2 separate regions of the Homo sapiens genome follow, and region 2 is linked to region 1. The links are contacts of gene promoters, found by promoter capture Hi-C in blood cells and fetal thymus (Javierre and others, 2016). All regions are on one chromosome and are shown on one strand. Each heading gives the region's core, a stretch centred on a gene start or on the middle of the fragment in contact. The rest is flanking DNA. Distances are from core to core; before and after follow the strand shown.

Region 1 (6,092 bases), core at 2,682-5,181:
TACTACAGACAGGGTTTCACCATGTTAGTCAGGCTGGTCTCGAACTCCTGACCTTAGGTGATCCACCCAACTCGGCCTCCCAAAATGTTGGGATTACAGGCATGAGCCAGCCACCAGGTCCGGCCAAATTTGGCATTTTCAAGACAGACTTGAGACCTCCCAAGTGCGGTGGCTCACACTTGTAATCCCAGCACTTTGGGAGGCCGAGGCAGCTTGATTCCAGGAATTCGAGACCAGCATGGGCAACATAGCAAAACCTTGTCTCTACAAAAAAAAAAAAAGATCTCTGTGACCACCAAATTAACCCCACACTCTCTATCTCACTGGTAACCCTTGCAATGAGTTTAAAGTGGACTTTTTACATGTATTAATATATGGTATTCTGGGTGTTTCCTTGATTTTTTTCATTCCCTTCGTATCTCTGGCAACTTTTTATCCACTTAATGGATGTTTTCATTCTATGTCACCCACGTCATTTACACACTTCATGCCACCCGTTTTTTTAAGAGACAAGGTCTAAGTCTGTATCCCAAGCTGGAGTATAATGGCGCAATCATCGCTCACCACAGCCTCGAACTCCTGGGCTCAAGCAATCCTCCTACCTCATCTTCCCAAGTAGCTGGGACCACAGATGGATGATACCACACCCAGTTAATTTTTTTTTTTTTTTTAGAGATGGGGTCTCGGCCAGGCGCAGTGGCTCACACGTGTAATCCCACCACTTTGGGAGGCCCAGGTGGGCAGATCTTCTGAGGTCAGGAGTTCGAGACCAGCCTGACCAACATGGAGAAACCCCATCTCTACTAAAAAATGCAAAAATTAGCTGGGCTTGGTGGTGCATGCCTGTAATCCCAGCTACTTGGGAGGCTGAGGCAGGAGAATCGCTTGAACCCAGGAGGTGGAGGTTGCAGTGAGCCGAGATTGCGCCATTGAACTCTAGCCTGGGAAACAAGAATGAAACTCTGTCTCAAAAAAAAAAAAAAAAAAAAGAGAGAAATGGGGCCTCACTATGTTGTCCAGGCTGGTCTCAAACTCCCTGACCTCAAGTGATCCTCCTGCCTTGGCTTCTCAAAGCACCAAAGCACTGGGATTACAGGCATGACACACCTTGCCCAGTCCACACCTCCTTAAGTTGCTGCTCACTCCGTGCTTCAGAAAAGGATGTCCAAGGGTTTCACTATTCCCTGCCCTCATCTTTTTTTTGTTTTGTTTTGTTTAATTTTTTTTGAGGAGTCTTGCTCTGTCTCCCAGGCTGGAGTGTAGTGTCACGATCTTGGCTCACTGCAACCTCCGCCTCCGGGGTTCAAGTGATCCTCCCACCTCAGCCCCTCAGCCACCCAAGTAGCTGGGATTACAGGTGTGTGCCACCATGCCTGGTTAATTTTTTGTTTTTGGTAGAAACGGGGTTTCACCATGTTGGCCAGGCTGGTCTTGAACTCCTGACCTCAAGTGATCCACCCGCCTCGGCCTCCCAAAGTGCTGGGATTACAGGCGTGAGCCACTGTGCCCAGCCTCCCCTGTCCTCTTGATGAACATTTAAGCTATTTCCAATTTCTTGCTCTCACATCACTGCTACCGTAAAGATCGTTATGTACATATGCAAGCGTTCTCTTACACAGGGGTCTTGCTACCTGTTTTGTACAGCACTTAAGCTAAGAAGAGTTTTTTTTACAGTTTTTAAGCCTTGTAAGAAAAAAGAAAAACTGAAGAGTGTGTAAACCAGACCCTATGTCTAGCATATCTAAAATATTTCCTATTTGAACTTTTACAGAAAATGTTTGCCGGCTGGGCCTGGTGACTCACACCTCCAATCCCAGCACTTTGGGAGGCTGAGCCAGGCTGATCACTTTAGCCCAGGAGTTTGAGACCAGCCTGGGCAACACAGCTAAACCCTGTCTCTACAAAAAATTAGCCTGGCATGGTGGTGTGGACCTACAGTCCCAGCTACTCAGTGGGCTGAGGTTAGAGGATCGAATGAGCCCTGGTTATGCTACTGCGCTCCGGCATGGGCAACAAAGACCCTGTCTCCAACAAACAAACAAACAAAAAACCATGTTTGCTGACTGTTGTTGTAGTGTAGGTGGCACCCAGAAATGCCACCCCTCCTATGTCACAGATGGGAAAGCTGAGACCCAGAGAGGAGAACACAGTTACCCAAGGTCACACTGAACTGGTAACTCATTCAACTAGGTAAGTTTGTTGAGCTGCTGAGCCGGGCGGGCCTGGCTGGGGTGAGTGAGGTCCAGAAATTGATTAAGTCAACTGGGTGCAGTGGCTCATGCCTGTAATCCTAGCACTTTGGGAGACTGAGGCAGGCAGATCACCTGAGGTCATAAGTTTGAGACCAGCCTGGCCAACATGGTGAAATCCCATCTCTACTAAAAATACAAAAATTAGTTGGGCTTGGTGGCCCGTGCCTGTAATCCCAGCTACTTTAGGAGGGTGAGGCAGGAGAATTGCTTGAACCCAGGAGGGGGAGGTTGCAGTAAGCGGGGATCGAGCCAGCGCCCTCCAGCCTGGGTGACAGCGAGAGACTACATCTCAAAAAAAAAAAAAGAAAAAAAGAAATTTAGTCTACCCATTCTCCCAGACAACTCAGCCTGAGGAAACACACTGAGAAACAATGATAACCTCCGAGGAACAGGGTTCAAGGTCTCCCAGAGTGGGGTGGAGAAGGGGAGGGGAATTAATGTCAAAGCTTGGCCTGGAAGGATGACGTGCTCCCCAGGTAAAGGAGGTCAGGACAACATCAACATCCGGACATGGGACTCGGCTTGGACATACGCTGGAAAAGTGGATTCTCTCACATAGTCAGCTGGCCCTGAGAATTGTTGGTTTTACACTCAGACCTTGGTGGCTTTCCGGGTTCTGGGGGCTCAGGCAAGAGGGCCATAGGCCAGATTCATTCCCTGTCTCCAGGCCTCAGTTTACCCGTGTGTAAATGTGGAACTAACTGATTTCCCAGGGCTCGGGCGCCTCACCCGGGCCAGGTGGCGCTCTACCCAAGGGGCGCGACCAAATCAGTGACGTCACTCGGGGCGGGGCCGGCAAGACACGCTGCGGAAGCCTCAGAGGGTGTCTGGGCTCAGCCCGGAGCCGGCGTGTGGGGGCGGGGGCTCCCGGGAGGGTCTCCTCACCTCCGGGCCCTCCTGAGGGCTGGGATGATCCTGCTGTCCTCCGCAGGCGAAACTGAGTCAGAGCGGGGCGTGCGTGGGCCGGAGGCTTTACACACCAAAGAAGCCGGCGCCTCCTGCCCACCCCGGGCGAATGCCGGGCCCCCCACTCCCGCACTCCTCGCCAGTCCCCACCTCCACCCCACCCCACCCCCGACCCTGCGGCTGTGAGTCAGCGACCGACCGCGCCCCCTTGGCCCACTTCCTCCTCACCTTCCCGGGGCGGGCGGGGTGGGGTGAGAGGGGTTGGGCCCTACTCCCCCGACTTCCACTCCCGTGCGGGTGGGGGTCTCGCCCCCTTAGTAACCTCTCCGAAATTGACAGAAGAGAAACGCTGGGGAGGGGCGGTGTTCCGAAGATGGGATTTCAGGGAGAAAATCTGAGACCACTTGCTTAACTTGAGGGTCCTCCTCGACCCCCAAAATTGAGCGGAGTACGAGATGGAGAAGTCGATGGGGAAAGAAATCGCGCCCCTTCCGAGACCCTCCTCAGAATTCCCACAGTGGGAGCGAACTAGGAAGCAAGGGAGGTCCCCTTCCCCTTCACCAACTTGCCCCTCAGGTGGGGGTGATTCCCAGGGTGCACCCCTGGGCTACAACATTGGGGAGAGGAGCGAGATCGCGGAAGCCGAGGGTGCAGAGTTGCCCTTTTAAGCGCCCTCCACCCCCTCGCCTGGAGGCGCACGCGGCCCCTTTAAGGCGCGGGGCATTGTGGGTGCGGGGAGTGGAATTTTGGAACGAAATGTAACGAAGAGAAGTACAGTAGTAAGAGTAACACTGTAGCCGCCACCGGCAAGGGGTGCGCGCTGGGGAGCGGACGCTGCATCCCCTTTCTGCTGCAGGAACCTCTCATCAGACCGCCTGAGGGAAGCGGCGCCCGGAGACCCGCCCCGGCCCGGTCCACATTCTCCCCAGGAAGCCGGACTCTATGGGGCGGGACCCTGGGGGAGCCTGAGCCGAGCCCGGAGCCAGCCCCGAACCCCTGAACCTCCAGCCAGGGGCGCCCCGGGAGCAGCCAGCCCGTGGGCGAGCCGCCCGCCCGCCGAGCAGCCATGAGGTGAGCCGGACCTGCCCCCCGACCCGTCCCCGCCCGGGCGGGCTCCGCGCCCCGCCTTTGTCCCCCTCCCCCCCAGCTAGCTCCGGGCTGGAATTTGGGGACAGATCCTTGGGAGCCTCGGATTTGAGCTGAATCCCCTTGGACGCGCCCCAGAACCGTCGATCACTTCTCCACGACTGACTCCCCAAGCTCGGGGGGTGGTGGCGGTGAGGTTCTCCTGGGAGCCCTCAAGATTTGGGGGCGCTCGGAGGACTCCCGAATTGTTAAGACTTTTTTTAGAGGACCTCAAAGTTGGCAGCGACTCCCCGCAGGGATGCCAGGATTGAGGCAGGGCTCAGACTCTCCTCCCCCTCCCCCCAGACTTCAGCTCGAGGTCCGGGAAGGATTGTGGGGGACCGATTTGGGATACCCTGGGACTTGGAAGAGAGACTGAGACTCAGACCCTGGGTGTGCAGGTCCCCCGTTTACTTGGTGCTGGAAAAAGTCTCCCCAAGTGGGACCGCGCTCCATAACTTCGGGGGTACTTCTTAATCCCCTGGATTTTGGGGGTCACTTAGGTCTTCCTGTGGAGGAGGCTGGTGTGAACCGATCCAGGGACCTGGACGCAGCCTCCAGAGTCTGGTGGGACCCCCCCCTTCCCCGTCGCTCCGCACACAATCTGCTTAACTGGCCGTGCCTAGGACCGAGCGGGCGCTCGGAGCAGAGGGCGGCTCCCCGCCTCCGGCCATAAGGGCGGCCCGGCTCCCCCACCTGCGCGGCCCTGGAGAGGGAGGGGGCGCGGCAGCTGGGGGAAGGGGGCCTTTGTCTTCCTGACTCACCTGTCGAGACAGCTGGTGTGGGGGGCGGGCACCAAGCGCTGTAGGCCGGCTGCCTTCCCCACCACGGCCCCTCCCCCTTTGCTCACCGTCCCCCTATCCACCCGGAGCCTTGGGGTTGGAGGAGGGGGAGCTGGAAAGCTTCAAGGTCATAGCCCTCTTCCCTAGGGACCCAGGCTTCCCAGATAATTCCAGCTATCTTCCCAGGAATTTAATCCTGGGGGTGGCGGCCCAAGGGACCCAGGGATTTGGTCTGGCCGGGGCCTCCCCCGAACTCCTGGGCTCACCTGAGGGCGGGGCCAGTGTGGGCAGGGGGGCCCAACCATCCCCCCTATTCTTCCCTCCCCTGGCCCCCCATAATCTCTCCCATGGGGCCAGAGCCTGACAATACTATCTCCCTTCCTCTACTCTCTCTGGGACTTCCTGCCCCAAAGCCCCCAGCCTGAGCAGGGAGGCCCCTGGGGACGGTTGGGGATTAACCCCGTGGTGCCCACATCCCCCGCATTTCCTGAACCCCTGCCCTTTGACATCGGAGTGGCGTGGCATTCCTTTTTATGACCACTAGAGAATCCCCCTCCCGCGTTTGTTCCTTCTGATGTGAAAGGCATGGCTGGAAAATTTGGAGCAAGGAGGACACCCACAGATACCCTCAAGACTTCCTGCCTATCCGCTCCCCATTATAGCAACATCCCTTCCAAGTCCGCCCTGGAGAGGGGTCAGTTTAGGGAGCGTCGCTCTCTTCCTTCGCCCTCTTCCTCCGGGACTCTTCTCTCCCCTTGCCCCCCAGCCCCGCCCCTCCACCCCCCCTCGCGTTTCCGGTCCCAGGCTCGGTGGAAGGCGGATGGCGGATGTCCGAGTTAGTGCTGCCTCACTCACTGCAACCGTAAAAGGGCAGGAGCGGTGTCTGGGCCGGCCCCCTGTCCTCCCCACCACCACCACCACCACCAGCACCAGCCCTGGAAGCCCTGGCCCTCCCACAAGGCCCACCTCTTGCTGTGGTGGTGGCCAAGCATCCCGTCTTGTGGGGGTGCTGGGGTGGGGTGCGGTG
Region 2 (6,305 bases), core at 1-2,500, 8.7 Mb after region 1:
AGTCCAGGTCCACACTGGGATCCGAGCTCCGAGTACGTGAAGGGGCGGGCCTTCGGGCTCGGAACAAGGAGGAGCCAAAAGCTTTGGACCCGAAGGGGAACAGACGGGCTCTGGAAAGGAGGCGGGGTCTGGAGCTCGGCGTGAGGAATGAGGCGGGGTCTCCCTTCGGGTTCCTTCGGGCACAATCGGGAGCTTGAGTTCTCCGGAAGCGGGGCCACAAACTTCGGCTCACTTCGGCAATAGTCGAGAACGGAGAGCTGAGGCCACTGTGGGCGGAGCCACATGTTTCGGCTTTCTTCGGAGGTAGTCGAGTCCTTAGGGTCACTGTTCCGATGTGGGCGGGGCCACAGACTCGGCCGGATGTGGGTGGGGCCACAAGCTTCGGTTTACTTCGTAGATAGTTGGGTACAAGTGACGCTAGGATGATAGGCGGAGTCAACAGGTTCGCCAGACACCCATGAGTATTTACAAGGGGGCGGGGCGAAAGCGACTTGCCCTCAAAGGGGCGGAACCCCGAGGGCCGGCGTGCGCCTACGGGACCGGGCCAGGATGACGATCCTCAAGTTCCCAAGTAGAGGAGAGGAAGCGGCAGAGGGAGGTGCGCTCAGTGGGGCGGAGCCAAGGTGGCCCCCGCGGGAGGAGGGCGGGGCTTCGGTCCTGCGAGGGGCGGGACCTGACTTCCCGCGGCGCTGATGGGGCGGGATGACGAAGTTGACGAGGGTGTCGGCATGAGGGGGTGGAGCAAGGAGCGCGTGGCGCGGTGCGCAGTGGGTGGCTCCACCTCGACTGCGAATTACTGTTTATGAGGTGACTCGCTGGTTCTATCGGTGGACAGTGGGACATTCTGAAGGGAGGCAAGGAGGCGGACTGAGCGCTCCCAATTGGGGTGAGCCCGCCCGAGCGGAGAGTGGACGGCGGGTGTCCAGGGGGCGGGGCTTTCGGCTGTGGGGTTCGGTCGTAGGGCGGGAACTCCCCAACTGGGGTGCGCTGGCGCTCGGAGGGGGCGGGGCCACAGGCCGCGAGGCTGCCGGGAGCCGATGACGCCCGAACGCCGAACCTATTGCGTCCGGGAGGAGGCGGGGCTACGGATTCGGCCGAGCCGAGAACACCCGAACGTCAAATTGCTGGCGTTCGAGAAGGGGGCGGGGCTGCGGATTCGGTGGAGCCGAGGACGCCCGAACGCCGAACTTCCTGTGCTCGGGAGGGGGCAGGGTTTTGTACTGTGGGAGTCTGAGAGCGAGGAGGTCCGAAAGCCGAATCACAGTCGTTCGGAAAGAGGAGGAGCGAAGGCTCGAGCGTCCGGAAGAGGGTGTGGCCTCGGCGGTGCCTTAGCCTCCAGAGCTTCTGACCGCTGACGGGAACACCCGAAGGGGGACGCCCACTTTGCAAGAGGGTGGTGCCAAAATGGACCTTTGTAAGGGGGCGTGTCGCCGCGCTTGCGGAGGTTTGTTTTTCACGCTCCAAGGCGCAATGGTAGGTACGGCAGTGCGGGCACAGAGCGGGTGCCGACCGCAGGGTCACAAGGGTAGAGCGGGACCCTGGGGGCTTGGCGAGGGGAGAGGGTCGGGGGCTTGTCTCCGGCGTCTCGTCTCCGGCGGCCGCGAGGCCTGGTGGGATCGCCCGGGGGCGGGGCCTGGCGCTCGGGCCCAGCAGGTGGTGAACGGCGGCTGAGCGAGGCCCCGCCCCCTGAGGCCTAGGGGCGGGGCTTCGCCGAGACCCCGGAGGCTTTGGGTGCGCTGCAGCGGTCCGCGGCGCGCAGCTGTTTCGGTAACTGCTTTGCCTCCCGGCTCCCGCAGGAGGATGCTGGTGGTGGAGGTGGCGAACGGCCGCTCCCTGGTGTGGGGAGCCGAGGCGGTGCAGGCCCTCCGGGAGCGCCTGGGTGTGGGGGGCCGCACGGTAGGCGCCCTGCCCCGCGGGCCCCGCCAGAACTCGCGCCTGGGCCTCCCGCTGCTGCTGATGCCCGAAGAGGCGCGGCTCTTGGCCGAGATCGGCGCCGTGACTCTGGTCAGCGCCCCGCGTCCAGACTCTCGGCACCACAGCCTGGTAAGGGGGCGGGGCTCGAACTCGGGTTCGGTGGGAGCGGGACCTGGGAGTCAAGTTTCCTGGCTTCTGAAGGGACCATAAGCTTGGAGGTTCCAGCGAAGTGTGCTTCTCAGGCCCTGACATCCTTCAAGCGCCAGCAAGAGGAGAGCTTCCAGGAGCAGAGCGCCTTGGCAGCTGAGGCCCGGGAGACCCGTCGTCAGGAGCTCCTGGAGAAGATTACGGAGGGCCAGGCTGCTAAGAAGCAGAAACTAGAACAGGCTTCAGGGGCCAGCTCAAGCCAGGAGGCCGGCTCGAGCCAGGCTGCCAAAGAGGATGAGACCAGTGATGGCCAGGCTTCGGGAGAGCAGGAGGAAGCTGGTGAGCATGGGAGGTGGAGTCCAGGGACCACGGGAAGGAGAGGAGAGATCTTTTAGGAATTTTAGCTGGGAATCCAGTGCCTGGGTCTCCCTGAGGGTGAGAAGACTTTACCCCTTGAATTTACCAAACTCTTCTCTGTACTCCCCACCAGGCCCCTCGTCTTCCCAAGCAGGACCCTCAAATGGGGTAGCCCCCTTGCCCAGATCTGCTCTCCTTGTCCAGCTGGCCACTGCCAGGCCTCGACCGGTCAAGGCCAGGCCCCTGGACTGGCGTGTCCAGTCTAAAGACTGGCCCCACGCCGGCCGCCCTGCCCACGAGCTGCGCTACAGTATCTACAGAGACCTGTGGGAGCGAGGCTTCTTCCTCAGTGCGGCTGGCAAGTTCGGAGGTGACTTCCTGGTCTATCCTGGTGAGTATGGGTTGGGGCCTCTGGTTGCTGTGCCTTTCCATACGATCCCAATGTATTCTGCGTTTTTCTTTTTTTTTTTTTTTGTCTTAATAGAGGTGGGGTCTCTTGTTGCTTAGGCTGGTCCCTATTCCTGGGCTCAAGCAATCCTTCCACCTCGGCCCCCCAAAGTGCTGGAATTATAGGCCCAGCTGCATTTTTCTTTTTTGTCTCACTTTCTCTTAGCCTCTGAAATTCATAGACAGACAGGAAACATTTGGGAGCTCCCGAACTCATTGGGCAAGCAGTTTAACGACTTTTATTAAATGATTACTGTGATCCAGAAGATTCACTTAGAAGTAGTTAGACATCAGGCTGGGCGCAATGGCTCACGCCTGTAATCCCAACACTTTGGGAGGCCAAGACAGGTGGATCACCTGAGGTCAGGAGTTTGATACCAGTCTGGCCAACATGGTGAAACCCCATCTCTACTAAAAATACTAAAACTAACTGGGCGTGGTGGTGGGTGCCTGTATTTCCAGCTACTCGGGAGGCTGAAGCAGGAGAATCATGTGAACCCAGGGGGCAGAGGTTGTAGTGAGCCAAGATCGTGCCATTGCACTCCAGCCTGGGGGACAAGAGCGAGACTTTGTCTCAAAAAAAAAAAAAAAGCCTAGAAGTGGAATAGTTGTGTCCAAGAGCATCTGTTTTAGAGTATCTATAGTGATGGCTGAAATGATCTCAGATCTCCTCCCAGTGGTCGTTCCCGTGGCGTCCAGCCGTCTGCCATTGGTCACTGCTTCAGTGCCTCTCTCCTTCCCCCAGGTGACCCCCTCCGCTTCCACGCCCATTATATCGCTCAGTGCTGGGCCCCTGAGGACACCATCCCACTCCAAGACCTGGTTGCTGCTGGGCGCCTTGGAACCAGCGTCAGAAAGACCCTGCTCCTCTGTTCTCCGCAGCCTGATGGTAAGGTGGTCTACACCTCCCTGCAATGGGCCAGCCTGCAGTGAACTCCAGAGACCTAGGGGATGTGGCTGTGTCGGCAGCAAGAGCCTTTCTGGATGTTCCCCAGCTCTTCTCTGGGAGTCTAGAACATCCTCCTACCTTTCTCCGCGGTTAGTTTTTGATTCCAGGTTTTCGAACACTACATCTTTTTTATGTTCTTCCTTGTTTCAAAGCACTTATTGGCTGTGTTTTTGTAGTTACCTATTTTCACACTGTGAGCTTCCCGAGAATGGGGCCTGGGTTTGATTCATCTGTTTTCTACAGGGTTTAAGTCTCAGGAGGTCTCAATAAACTTGGTATATAAATGTTCATGATTTGAATGTTTGCGACAGTCCTGGAACCCGTGGATGGTCTCATCTGCATGTACAGGTGAGAAAAAGGCCTGGAGGAGGGGGACTGACTTGCCCAAAGTCACACACTTAGTAAATAGCAGGCCTGGCCTTTCAAAATTGGTTTTTCTGACTCCTAAATCTGCACTCTTTCTACCTCACTAAACTTCCTTTTGAAAAGATTTCTATGAAATTTCCCAGATGCATACAAACGTTATAAATAAAAATATAGGCTGGGCACGATGACCCACACCTGTAATCCCACAGAACTTTTGGAGGCCAAGGCAGGGGGATCGCTTGAGCCCAGGAGTTTGAGACCAGCTCTGGCAACATTGTAATACCCAGTCTCTACAAAAAATAATTTAAAAAAAAATTAGCCAGGGATCCCTTGAGCCTGGGAAGTTGAGGCTGCTGTGAGCTGTGATTGCACCACTGCCCTCCAGCCTGGGAGACAGAGCAAGAACCTGTCTCAAAAAATATATATATGTGTGTGTGTATATATGTAAATATACACACATGTATGTATATATATGTGTGTGTATATATATATATATTATGAAAGGAAATGAGTATTGTAATTTTAGGAGTTCAGAGCCTGGGGAGAAAGGAAGGACTCTGGAAGGCGTTCTGCTTTTTCATGGCCTGGGTAGTGGTGAATTTTTTTGATACTGTATATTTATATTTTAGACTCTTTTTTGGATGTGTTATATTCTGCAATTTTTATAAAAGCTAAAACACATGTATTTGTAAAAAATTTGCACTTATGAAATCATTTACCCATGTTTTTGCTTAAGAAAGTACTAGAACACTACCACTATTCCAATAATTACACCTTTATCTTATCAATGTGCAGTTTTATTTTGTCACGTTTATTTTGTCAGTGTAATACATTCACATGGTGAGTCTGGGCGTGGTGGCTTATGCTTGTAATCCCAGCACTTTGGGAGACCAAGGCGGGCGGATCATGAGGTCAGGAGTTCCAGAGCATCCTGGCCAACATGGCCCGCCTCTATGAAAAATACAAAAATTAGCCGGGCGTGGTGGCGGGCGCCTGTAATCCTAGCTACTCCGGAGGCTGAGGCAGGAGAATCACTTGAATCTGGGAGGTGGAGGTTGCAGTGAGCCAAGGTCACGCCACTGCACTCCAGTCTGGGCGACAGAGCTAGACACTGTCTCAAAAAAACAAAAACAAACAAAAACTTCCACATGGTAAAATTCTGGGGCTGAAAGTCTCCACCTCTAGTTCTTCCATTTCTTCCCCCCATGTTTCATTCTTTCTCTTTTTTGTGTGAATTGAGCAGCCTCTGGAACCAGAATAGGTTTAGAGAGACTCCCATCTCCCCTCTTTCTTGCCATTCCCAGTAAACAGACTTCATAGAATCTCAATTTCCTGTAAGTTTAGATTAATTTAAAATATGACACTGGGCCAGGTGTGGTGGCTCACACCTGTAATCCCAGCACTTTGGGAGGCTGAGGTGGGCAGATGAGTTTGAGATCAGCCTGGCCAATATGGTGAAACCCCATCTCTACTAAAAATACAAAAAAAAAAATTAGCCGGGCGTGGTGGCATGCGCCTGTACTCCTAGCTACTCAGGAGCCTAAGGCAGGAGAATCACTTGAATCCGGGAGGCAGAGGTTGCAGTGAGCCAAGATCGCACTACTACACTCCAGCCTGGGCAACAAGAGCTAAACTCCATCTCAAAAAAATGAAAAGAAAAAAAATGACGCTAACCCCTGTCTGGCCAATACTCTCTTTGTGCCTGCTTCATAATTGGCTTTGTAAGTCTATTCTCCACCCTTTCTCCTCTCTACAACAAAGTACTTAGAAGTCTCATTCCCTCTGTCATGAGTCTCTCCTCTGAAAAGTTCCTCATTTAAAACTCCTGTGGCCAGATGTGGTGGCTCAGACCTGTAATCCTAGCACTTTGGGAGGCCAAGGTGGGAAGATCAGTTGAGCCGCTGAGCTCAGGAGTTTGAGACCAGCCTTGGCTGAACATAGTGAGACCTCATCTCATCTCTATTTAAAACAAACAAACAAAAAAAAACTTTTGTGACTGGTGTCCCCCCATGTTGTCAGTCAACAAATTCTATAGGTGCCATGTTCAAAGCACTGTGGATCCACAGTTAGGCCCCACCCTCCACCTTCACTGCCAGTATCTTAGAAAAACCAAACCATGGCTCAT

The links. Contacts are between HindIII fragments. The CHiCAGO score rates a contact against its expected background, and 5 or more counts as called.
Region 2: a fragment that was not itself captured here is called in contact with the fragment with the promoter of VASP in region 1 in 1 of 17 cell types (total CD8 T cells); the score reaches 6.5 in total CD8 T cells.

What each region holds. Positions count from the first base shown.
Region 1 is chr19:45,503,548-45,509,639 of GRCh38, forward strand. VASP (vasodilator stimulated phosphoprotein) reads left to right here and starts at 3,932. Exons shown (of 13, transcript NM_003370.4): 1 at 3,932-4,229. The coding sequence starts at 4,225. LOC107985314 (a long non-coding RNA gene) reads right to left here and starts at 3,827. Exons shown (of 2, transcript XR_007067269.1): 1 at 3,138-3,827. RefSeq lists silencers at 2,993-3,242, 3,273-3,402, 4,083-4,262, 4,857-5,056, 5,867-5,996 and enhancers at 3,597-4,381, 3,663-3,932. The HindIII fragment of the contact is 2,487 bases long and covers 2,697-5,183 here.
Region 2 is chr19:54,189,565-54,195,869 of GRCh38, forward strand. MBOAT7 (membrane bound acylglycerophosphatidylinositol O-acyltransferase MBOAT7) reads right to left here and starts at 16. Exons shown (of 8, transcript NM_024298.5): 1 at 1-16. TSEN34 (tRNA splicing endonuclease subunit 34) reads left to right here and starts at 1,744. Exons shown (of 4, transcript NM_001077446.4): 1 at 1,744-2,043; 2 at 2,157-2,400; 3 at 2,552-2,809; 4 at 3,611-4,968. The coding sequence starts at 1,801. The coding sequence ends at 3,798. RefSeq lists enhancers at 1-29, 30-711, 2,680-3,196 and a silencer at 1,634-1,835. The HindIII fragment of the contact is 1,746 bases long and covers 378-2,123 here.